Regions from separate parts of the Homo sapiens genome. Here all the other regions are linked to region 3. The links are contacts of gene promoters, found by promoter capture Hi-C in blood cells and fetal thymus (Javierre and others, 2016). All regions are on one chromosome and are shown on one strand. Each heading gives the region's core, a stretch centred on a gene start or on the middle of the fragment in contact. The rest is flanking DNA. Distances are from core to core; before and after follow the strand shown.

Region 1 (2,700 bases), core at 108-2,607, 330 kb after region 3:
ACCTTCTTGCTGTGTCTTCATGAGCTGGAAGGGCCTCTTATAAAACACTAATCCCATTTGTGAGGGGTCCTCCCCCATGACCTAATCACCTCCCATAGGCCCCACTTCCTATACCATTAGCTTAGGGAACATATGAATTTAGGGGAACACAAACATTCCAACCATGGTATACATACCAACTCATAGAGGTATGTTATATATTCTCTCTCTCTTTATCTGTCTATCTATCTATATATATATGTATGTATACAATCTAAATGTATTTTTTCAGTTTTCAGCCTGGATCCTGGAGCTCACCATAATGAAATTTACATCTGCATGTTTATTTTATTTTACTTATTTATTTATTTGAGACTAGCTCTCACTCTGTCGCCCAGGCTGGAGTGCAGTGGCGTGATCTCAGCTCACTGCAACCTCCACCTGCTGGGTTCAAGCGATTCTCCCACCTTAGCCTCCTGAGTAGCTGGGACTACAGGTGTGTGCCACCAGCCTGGGTAATTTTTTCTTTTGTATATATATATATATTTAGTAGAGATGGAGTTTTGCCATGTTGGCCAGGCTGGTCTTGAATCCCTGACCTCAAGTGGTCCACCTGCCTCGGCCTCCCAAAGTGCTGGGATTGCAGGTGTGAGCCACCACACCCAGCCTACATCTGCAGGTTTAGAAAATTATTTATTGCGCACTAAGAGCCTACATTCTAGGAAACAGATAAGATTCTAGGTGTGGTAGAAGATGCAGACATTAATAAAAGGCTCTCAAAAGATTGTGGTTACACAAGCTTTTCTGTCAATGGGCTTTTCAGATCTCTTCTGTGCTCTCCTGGGAAAATGATGTAAAATAAAAAGCCAAAGCAGATTTAAGTCCTCTTAGAAACTCAGATTTTATCTCTCTTTGTGGATTCTTTTTGTGAAAAATAAATGTGTTGTCTGTAGAGAATTAAAATGAATACAGTGTTGTTGGAAATTATCTAGCTATTGTTCTTCCCTGATCTTTTACAATAACATTAAATGTTAAATGTGGTAAAAGAAAATCAATACGGTTTTCATCTTGTTCCTCATCAGTCTGAAAACCTTCAACCAACCAAAACCTTTTAGAAAAAAAACCAACAATTTTTTTTCTCAAGGCTGTTGAAAGGAAGCATTTATTATATATTTTATATATAAATATATATTATTTAGTCTATATTTTCAAAATTATTCCATATTATGGATTGTTTATTAGAGCTACTGCCAAAATAAATTGAAAATGCAGGCTGGGCATGGTGTCCCATGCCTGTAATCCCAGCACAGGGAGGCTGAGGCAGGCAGGTCACCTGAGGTCAGAAGTTCAAGACCAGCCTGGCCAACATGGCAGAAACCTCATCTCTACTAAAAAATATACATGTAATTAAAAAAAATAGCCAGGCATGGTGGTGGACACCTGTAATCCCAGCTACTCGGGAGGGTGAGGCAAGAGAATCACTTGAACCAGGGAGGCAGAGGTTGCAGTGAGCTGAGATTGTGCCACTGCACTCCAGCCTGTGCAACAGAGTGAGACTCTGTCTCAAAAAAAAAAAGAAAAAGCAGAAGAACCTATAAAAATGAGGACAGGATATCAAATATTATTTTTTTAAACAAGTTTTAAAAATAAGCTATAATAAACCCACCACAAAACTCTAAAGTAAATCCATGTAAGAAGCCTTGCTTGTTCAGGAACTCTAGAAATCGTTATTTGAAATGACAAAGAATAAGACCTGAATTAAACACTGTATAAGACAGAGAAAAGTTAGGGATGCATCTGTCAGGATAGGTTATGCACATAGTAACAAACAACTCCACCTCACAGCAGCTTAACTCAACAAGTTGATTTCTCATTGTAATGAGCATGTTCAGTGTGGCCTGGCATGGAAGCTCTGCTCATCGTGGTCATCCAACAACCCAGGCTGATGGAAGCTTCGTTTTTACATTTGCTTCCATGATCATCACTGCAGTGGGAAGGCAGTGTGGCAAAGCAAGTAGTCATTTGTAAAGCTTCTTCCGTAAAGTAATATGTATCCCTTCTGCTTACATTTCTGTGGTCAAAGCAACTCCTAGCAGCCATGTCAAGCCTCAAAGTGTGCCCCTAGGGCAATCCTACCAGTGCTGGGGAGGCAGAGAGCTGGGACCATGTGCAGAAGTGTCAGTGACCACCACAGAGGTCTTAAATGTAAATTTCCTGTTCTTCACCTGACCTTAACATAAACTTCATTTTAAAAGAGGAAAATGAGACTGTGAGGAGAATGGAGCTGTGATTCTAAAAGCAGCATTTCTTCTATTATATTAACATGCTTCCCATAAGTTCTACTTCATCTCATAAAATAACAAGGGAAGAGTAAATATGGTATTTTTAATGAGACCTAAAAAACTAAAGTATTGCTGGGATAGTAAATATCAGTTCAACTTGTCAAAAGTTGTTCTCAGATGGACTTTAATATGCCCTAGACTGTGAATTCCTTGAAAAGTAAGACTGTATCTTACTCACTTTGACATCCCCAGCTGCTGTCACAGTTTTTGTTGTATTGTAATTACTAAAAACAAATTTGGCTAAACTTTTGAACTGATCAGTAAAGTACTGTTTGATTTCTAATATTTCATATCAAGTGAGTTTTGAATGCTCTACTGGTAGTTTTTTCCTTGTCATTTTTTTTGCAAGAGCTAAAGCTACAATTTAATAGAAGTCCAA
Region 2 (2,745 bases), core at 106-2,605, 280 kb after region 3:
ACTCATCGAAGGAGCAAAACGTCATCATTTATTCTCATAAATTACTTGGTTGAAGTCAGCCATCTGAGGGTTGGCAGGAAGAGTTTGTTGCTCTTGAAATATGAATTTGATGAGTCAAAAGCGGGCACCATATATGGGATACCATCATGCACAGTATGATTGAGACTTTTCAAACTTGACATGTGAAGTCCAGTAACAGCCTTAAATCCAAACTAACTGAAAGGTGATAAAGTAGTCCAAGGAAGAGTGAAAGACTCTCATGTTTTGATCAAAAAACATAATTTTAAAGTAGATTCTCAATCTAACATTAAAAATTAATCTAATATTTCCTCCATGCTTATATATACCTTTTATAAAGTAGGGAGCAACTGAAGATAAGTTGTGTTCCTCACGCTCAAGGGAGGCAGGCTGCATAGTGGCTTAAGAGCATGGGCTTTGGAACTAGACCTAAGATACATTTTCACCTCTACAATTTAACTAGCTGTGTGAGATGTCTGCCCTTACTGATGAGCTTCTGGTCCCTGACAACTGGAGAATTAATGCCTCCTCCTTTTATCCTCTTCCTTTATCTCCTGCCCTCTCACTCTCATGTATATATTACTATGTATCGCAACTCATTATACATACATACATGTATACACATGTATGTATATAGTAAGGGTGGAACCATTGGAATTAATATGTGTGTTTATATATGTATATAATATATATAAATATGTGTGTGTGTCTATGTATATATACATACTTGGCAGCTCCCGGTCTAGAATGTATTTCAAATTTAACCTGTGAGTGGTATAATGGACTTTGGAGACTCAGAAGTGGGGAGGATGGGTGGGGTATGAGGGATAAAAAACTACATATTAGGTGTAATGTATACTAGTCAGGGAACCAGTGCACTAAAATATAGACTTCACCAGTATGCAATTCATCCATGTAACGAAAAACCACTTGTATCCCAATTAGACTAGATAGATAGATAGATAGATAGATAGATAGATAGAAAAAAAAATTTCACCTTTGAAAGTTGAACACTTTATTCCCACCCTTTTCCATGCCACCACCCCCCAATTCTACACTCCTCATAATCTCAGCAAATGGAAAGTACATTTTTCTCATTATTTAAGTCAAAATCTTGATGTTATTTTTGACTTTTCTGTTTGTCTCACACTTAACCATCAACAAATCACACTGGCTCTACCCTCACAATGTATCTAGATTCCAACCACGCCTCTCCATTTCTGTTGCTACCAGCCTAGCCCGTGCACCTATCATCTCTCCTTGGCCTCAGGCGGTCCCCTCCTTATTGGACACTCTGCTCCTGTCCTTCCCTGTCCTCCACCCCTTACAGTCTAAGGACTGCACATAGAGTGACATTTTCAAACTTAAGTGAGATCATGCCATTCTGATGCCCAAAACCCTTCAACATCTTCCTCTTCTTATTCAGAATAAGTCTTTTCAGTTTCCTGCATGACCTAGCCATGCTACCTTTGGAATCTCTCATTCTGCCTCATCCATTCTGACTTCCATGATGTACCTCTAACACATCAAGCCTTTACACTGTTTTCTGAACTGGAATGTTTTCTCCCCCATAACTATCTGGCTTGATCCTTCATTTCATTCATGTCTCTGCTAAGATGTTACTCCAATGACGTGGCTTTTCTAACTTAACTCTAACAATAAAGTACCCTTCTCCCTCCTCTCATCCATTTTTCTTTATAGAATTTATCACCATCTCACATATCATGTATTTGTTTATTGTATGTCTTCCCCATCTATAAAGAAATCTTTATGAAAGCAGGTAATTTGTCTTGTTTACTTACCTCTGTATCCCAGATCTCAATGACCACCACAAACTGAGTAGCCAATAGCATGTGCTCAATACATGCTTGTTATGATAATCATTTCCTGCACTCTGGCTTTATTTTCAAGCATTTTTATTGCCTCCACTTTGAAAACCCCCCAAGAAAACTAAGAAAGCATAAAAATCCAGTTGCCAATGCTATTTAAATAACCGACCTTTGTTTCTTTGTGGGAAGGCTGCGGTGGATATTTGCATGCAGACAGAGGGATCATCACGTCCCCCAAGTATCCAGAGACTTACCCATCCAACCTCAACTGTTCTTGGCACGTCCTGGTCCAAAGTGGCCTGACCATTGCTGTCCATTTTGAACAGCCTTTCCAGATTCCAAATGGAGATTCTTCTTGCAACCAGGGGGATTACTTGGTGGTAGGTCTTGCTGCTACCCTTTCTAATTACATTTTCCATAGACTTCATTCAGAAAACAAAATGATAATTTTTCTCTCCTGGGACATAAATGGATAAGAATTGCGTACTCCTTCTTTTGCAATGTAAAGGAGTTGATGAAATTTTAATTTGTCTTTCCAGCTAAGAAATGGTCCTGATATCTGTTCTCCACCCTTGGGACCCCCTGGAGGAAATGGTCATTTTTGTGGCAGTCATGCTTCATCAACTCTGTTCACCTCGGATAATCAAATGTTTGTTCAGTTTATTTCTGATCACAGTAATGAAGGGCAAGGATTTAAAATCAAATATGAGGCAAAGAGTTTAGGTAAGTATTTTCACTGAGAATTATATCTGCTTTTCCTGCAATTGCTTGATCTTCTTTGATATAAAATTTTCTTTTCTGAACCAACAGTAATAGAATTAATAAGAATGCCTACTCTCAAGTACTTATTATATTTGATACATTCAATATCTCATCGTGACTACTTTTCAAGTAAAGT
Region 3 (2,700 bases), core at 23-2,522:
TTCTTTGACACTTTTTGAAATGGCCCTACACAGCCATCTCTTGTGGGGAAAATCTACATTCTATAGAGACTCCCTTTCCCTTTCCAGGTCTTTTCCTGATCCAAGAGATATTTAACTAAGAGTCTGGCATCTTTTTACACATGATAAGAGACATTTGCCAATTATTCTCTCTGAAGCCTGTTACGTATGAGACTTCGTCTACATAATAAGAACCTTGGTCTCCACCTTATCTTAACCCAGACACATTCCTTTCTATTGATTCCAGGTCTTTAGGTCACAACTTAACTCTTTCAACCAACTGCCAATCAGAAAATCTTTGAATCCACCTGTAACCTGGAATCCTTCCCCTTTTTGAGTTGTCCCATCTTTATGGACCAAACTAAGTACACCTTCCATATACCAGTTAATGTCCTTATGTCTCCCTAAAACCATATAATCCCAAGCTGTAGCCCAACCACCTTGGGTACATGTTGTCAGGACCCTGTGGGGTTGTGTCATGGGTCACGGTCCTCACCTTGTGCTCAGAATAAACCTCTTCAAACATTTTACGGAGTTTGGCTTTTTTCGTCAACATGAGCCTCTAACAGTTGGTTACTGGATCATCCTGAGGAATCAAGGCCATAGCACTTAAAGACCCATAAATAATCCTACATGATATTCACTGTGTATTCTATGTAGGTGTAATTTCCAAGCTAAAACATAATTAACCCCACTAATAGACACAACAAACATCCTCTGTATTATCAGCACGCACACAGGGCTTTCTCTGCTGCGAGTGGACTTGTGTCCTTACTTATAATTCTGGAATCTTCTCTAGGGGAGAGGCTGGTCTAATTTCTCTCTATTGACCCAGGGCAGGCAGGAAACAAGGCACACTGTGGAAAGAATGTTTGAATGTTCAGGCTTCTAAGTGACAGAAAAGCAGCTTGTCTGAAAAATGATTTTTTTCTGGCTTCTAACCAGTGTTAATTCACTTGGAAACCAAGGCAGTTTTCTCCCCTTTACTGAACTCTGGATTTCTTTTCCAATCAAGGCCCCTGACACCAAAGAAGGAAATGGAGCGTAAATCAGGCTACAGAGTGGCTGCCATTCATTCGGGAAGCCTTATTGTTTTCCGTCCTTTGTTCCCCTCTAGACCCTTGCCAATCCCCAGGCCGCGAGGCCCTCTGAAGCCCTGAGCCTGGAGCGGTAGGAGACGGGGGAACTGAAACGCCGCGGAACCAGAGGCTGAGGGAGCGGCGCGATGGAGGGAGGAGGAGCGACGGACCGGCAGGCCTAGCTCCGGGGCTGCGGCGGCTGAGGCGCGGGGATGGAGCCCCTGCGGGTGCTGGAGCTATACAGCGGCGTGGGCGGCATGCACCACGCGCTGAGAGGTGAGAGTCCATCTAGCACCCCTCTCTCTATTCGCTCACGGGGGCTGGTTGGAGCACCCGCGCCGGGAAGGGGCGGAGCGGCGAGACGCAAGGGGCGGACACTGTGGGGCGGACACTGTGGGGCGGCCCTCGGTTGTCCTGGAAACAGCTCCTGCGCGCCGCCGTGTCCACCCCTCCAGACGCTGACTCCCTTCTCCTGGCGCCGAGTCTGGCTCGAGGGGCCGCACATGGCGCCTCAAAGGGCCCAGTTGGGAGTCGGGATTCGCAAGGCAGTAAATCAACCTCAAAGGGTATCAAAGGGGCGAGACCCTCGCCTGGTGCCAAGCCCCCATTCTAAGTGTGCAGCCACCGAGAAGCATGGAGACTCGGTCCTTCATCCTGGGGGGCTTCCCAGCTGGGGAGGGAGGGAGTGTCAGGGGCTCCCCTGGTGAGAGATGGATCTTGGAAGGGATAATAGCTACAATTCAAGGTAGAAGTTTGCGAATGCTAAATAGGATGGTAGAGGAAGCTTGAAGAACTTGGACGTCTGATCGTTGGAAAGAAACGTGTCTTCTGTAGTTCTGCGTTTAGATGCCAGAGAACTGAGTTCCAGCTTGGTGGCAGTGTGACGTTGGGCTACTTCGTGAACAGTGATGAACCTGTTTCCTGGTTTTAAAAGAGAATGATTATTATAAGGATTAAAGTCTGTCAAGTGCTTGTTAGTGCCTGATACATTGTAACCACTCCAAATATTATACATTATTATCACTATTACTTTAAAACGACATCACGAGATATTATCAAGCAAACTATTACTTTTATGCACGTCTTTGATTTTGAGGTTTTTGATTTCTTTCATGCTGAGTTGGAACTGAAAGTTTTACTTTTGGTGATATTCACTCAAAATTATTTATTGAGCTCCTATTCTGTGCCAGATTTTGTGCTAGGAGCTGGGGATACAGAATGACAAACAGGCTTTGAAGGTGCATGTTTATTCTTAAATTACTAAGACAACCACCGAACTGAAACTTCCCTGCTTCCTTATTTAGGACCAAGAGTAACAAGAGTAACTGTAAGATACAGACAATATTTAATGGGTTTAGCGTATAAGTTTTTTGAGCAGATTTATTGAGTTTCAATTCTAGACTAGGTTAATGATCATTAAGTTTTTAGTACTTGTTTGCCGGCTATCTTTATTTCTCATTTTAAAACTTAGCAGCATCAAAGCAAAACTCTAGTACTATTTACTCTTTGTTAATTCTCTAAAGTGATATAATGTCCGCGTTTTCCCATATCTTGAAACTCCTTAATGAATTGCTTAGTACTTTATCATAAGCTGTAATTCAGC
Region 4 (2,700 bases), core at 149-2,648, 400 kb after region 3:
TATTTGCTAACCAGAAACCCGATACATCTCTAATCTGGTATTAATTTTGGAAATACGGCTCCCTGCTTTTTAGAATTTGAACTGTATCTAGATTTTCAGCACATATAGCCATTTCCTATGATACAGTCTCTCCTTTAGCCCTCACGTAGTCTTAGTTCTACAGGCACCCCTATCTTTTATGCGCATTAGGAGTCCTTAGGACAATGTATCTCTAGTTATTTTGATTGTCTGAAGCTTATACTCTGGAATATTCCTCAGAAAGGCATCAAGAGAATAATCCCAGAGTTTTTTCTGTGGATAGTACATAAAAATTTGTGTTCTTTTTACATGAAAGTCAATTTTACAGGTATAGAGACTCGACAGTTTCTTTTCTGGAGTGTTGTCGATGTGTTACTCTATTTCTTCTGGCATAAAGCATTGTTTGAAAGTCTGGTGATACAATTTTATTTCCTGTAATTTTACTGGAGTATGACTTGGTGTAGGGCGTAGGTCATTCTGGTCTGATTATTTCCCAGGTATGTAGTATGCTCTTTAAAGTTTGAAAATTGTATTAGTCTGTTTTCATACTGCTACAAAGAACGGCTCAAGATGGGTAATTTATGAAGGAAAGAGGTTTAATTGACTCACCATTCAGCATAGTTGGGGAGACCTCAGGAAACTTACAATCATGGCGGAAGGGAAAGCAAGGTGCCTTTTTCACAAGGCAGTAGGATGGAGAAGTGCTGAGCGAAGGGGGAAGAGCCCCTTATAAAACCATCAGATCTCATGAGAACTCACTATCGGGGGAACAGTATGGGGGAAACCACCCCCATGATTCAGTTATCTCCACCCGGTCTCTCCCTTGACATACGAAGATTATGAGGATTACAGTTCAAGATGAGATTTGGGTGGGAACACAGCCTAACCATATCAGAACTTTTAAATACCTTTTATTTCAAGAAAGTATTTTTATTGTGATTTTTAGTCTATGAGCTCTTTCCTTATGTTCTTTATGGTTTTCTGGGGTCTGTATGTTGATTTTTTTGCCCATCTTTAATATTTGTCACTTTTGCCCAGATCCCTGTTCTTGCTTCATTTCTTTGTTTTAAAAGAAATCCCTCATGCCTATAATCCCAGCACTTTGGGAGGCCGAGGCAGGCATATCAGGTGAGGTCAGGAGTTCGAGACCAGCCTGGCCAACATGGTAAAACCCCGTCGCTACTAAAAATACAAGAATTAGCCGGGCGTGGTGGTGGGCACCTATAATCCCAGCTACTCTGGAGGCTGAGGCAGGAGAATCCCTTGAACCCGAGAGGCGGAGGTTACAGTGAGCCGAGATTGCCCCGCTCCACTCCAGTCTGGGCAACAGAGAGAGATTCCATCTCAAAAAAAAAAAAAAAAAAAAAAAGAAGAAATCCCCACTTTAACTTCTGTTTCTTGTAAAGTATTACGTATTGTGTTTATTTGCTCTTATATGTCTTTGAATTTAGCTTTCATTTCTGAAATAATTTTTTTTGTTTCTAATTTTTTTCTTAAGTTTTGTCCCTTTATTGCTGAATTTTTGGAAATCAGATTTATGTTTCTGTTTTGTGTCATGTATCATTGTTGTAATGGCTTTTTACCTTGTTTTGAAATAGTCAATTATAGTTTTGCCCTGTGTTCTGGGCATCTTTTTGGTTAGTGAGTTTTCATGGTCAATGATGTTCTTCTACACTTTCTTTTTCCTTTTATTCCATAATAACGTTATGGGATTTGCTCCCAATATTTTTTATGTTGCTCATTTTTAAATGAAATTAATTTTCCTAAACTTTCAGAGGAAGGCTTAGTTCTAGATAGCTTTTCTAACTTTACAGAGCTCTGTCCTCTGGTTGATTTTATGTAGTTTTCAGAAATACAGTGGCTTGCTTTCAGATGACTTGGTTCAGTCCTTCTGCCCACTTTTATCTGGATCTTCTCTATCCTTGGTCTCTTTTTCTCTCTCTTTTTAAAAGCGTTTTATTTTTACTTACTGCTCCTTGTGGAGTAGGGCTACCCTATAGGCAGTGTGCCTCTATCATTGGTCTCTATTATTTCTGTCTTATCCAGCTTTGATTCTAGGCCCTGTCCTGCAAGGGAGCCCTAGGTGGTCAGTTTCCAGGTCACAGGGCCTAGACTTGTCCTAATCCATCAGACCCTACTGCAGGCCCTGCTGTTGGAATGGGCAAACCCTTCCTAATTTCAGCTGCTATTCTCACAGAGGTCTTCTGGGCTTTCTGGTGAATTTGTTTAGCTATTCGGGGGTTCTCAGTTGTCAAGTTTGTTAGTTGCCCCTTGGGTTCTCTCTGCTTTCGTCACATGCATGCTGATATCATGCCAATCTTTGGGTTACTGGTAGCTTGTCCTCATCTACTTGTATTTTGGAGTTTTTTGTGGGGACACTTTATAACCTAGTTTTGTTGTAAATTGTGTCCTTGAATTTTTTCTTGCTGCCTAGTTTCTCTATTTTGATGTAGGGTTTCAGGATTCCTAAAATCTGCCATGCTGCCTCCACGTTTCCTGCACCTACACTTTTTCCTCCTTGGTACAGTGGGAAAAATAAGCTTCTCCTCAAATGAAGGATAATGTGTATGTAGTATCTGATGCAGACCAGGTACTCAAAAAATGATCATTGTGATGAACAGTTTGACAATTTCATACTTGTTGAGCAGTGGCATAGTCTGTTTTGAAGCTGCCATTGTGGGA

The links. Contacts are between HindIII fragments. The CHiCAGO score rates a contact against its expected background, and 5 or more counts as called.
Region 1: a fragment that was not itself captured here is called in contact with the fragment with the promoter of TRDMT1 in region 3 in 11 of 17 cell types (activated CD4 T cells, total CD8 T cells, naive CD8 T cells and 8 more); the score reaches 14.5 in activated CD4 T cells.
Region 2: a contact is called between a fragment that was not itself captured here and the fragment with the promoter of TRDMT1 in region 3, in 10 of 17 cell types (activated CD4 T cells, naive CD8 T cells, M2 macrophages and 7 more). The highest score is 15.5, in activated CD4 T cells.
Region 4: a fragment that was not itself captured here is called in contact with the fragment with the promoter of TRDMT1 in region 3 in 7 of 17 cell types (activated CD4 T cells, total CD8 T cells, naive CD8 T cells and 4 more); the score reaches 16.3 in activated CD4 T cells.

The regions. Positions count from the first base shown.
Region 1 is chr10:16,869,890-16,872,589 of GRCh38, reverse strand. All of the region lies in intron 58 of CUBN (cubilin), which reads left to right. Among named protein-coding and RNA genes, the nearest start is that of RSU1, 54 kb to the right of the region's middle. The HindIII fragment of the contact is 1,153 bases long and covers 781-1,933 here.
Region 2 is chr10:16,925,066-16,927,810 of GRCh38, reverse strand. CUBN (cubilin) reads left to right here. Exons shown (of 67, transcript NM_001081.4): 42 at 2,037-2,227; 43 at 2,387-2,570. Among named protein-coding and RNA genes, the nearest start is that of RSU1, 110 kb to the right of the region's middle. The HindIII fragment of the contact is 5,679 bases long and covers 1-2,745 here.
Region 3 is chr10:17,200,244-17,202,943 of GRCh38, reverse strand. It overlaps TRDMT1 (tRNA aspartic acid methyltransferase 1), which reads left to right and starts at 1,272. Exons shown (of 11, transcript NM_004412.7): 1 at 1,272-1,373. The coding sequence starts at 1,310. RefSeq lists a silencer at 1,575-1,634. The HindIII fragment of the contact is 5,194 bases long and covers 1-1,883 here.
Region 4 is chr10:16,796,544-16,799,243 of GRCh38, reverse strand. The region is part of intron 2 of RSU1 (Ras suppressor protein 1); the gene reads left to right. Among named protein-coding and RNA genes, the nearest start is that of RSU1, 20 kb to the left of the region's middle. The HindIII fragment of the contact is 2,324 bases long and covers 237-2,560 here.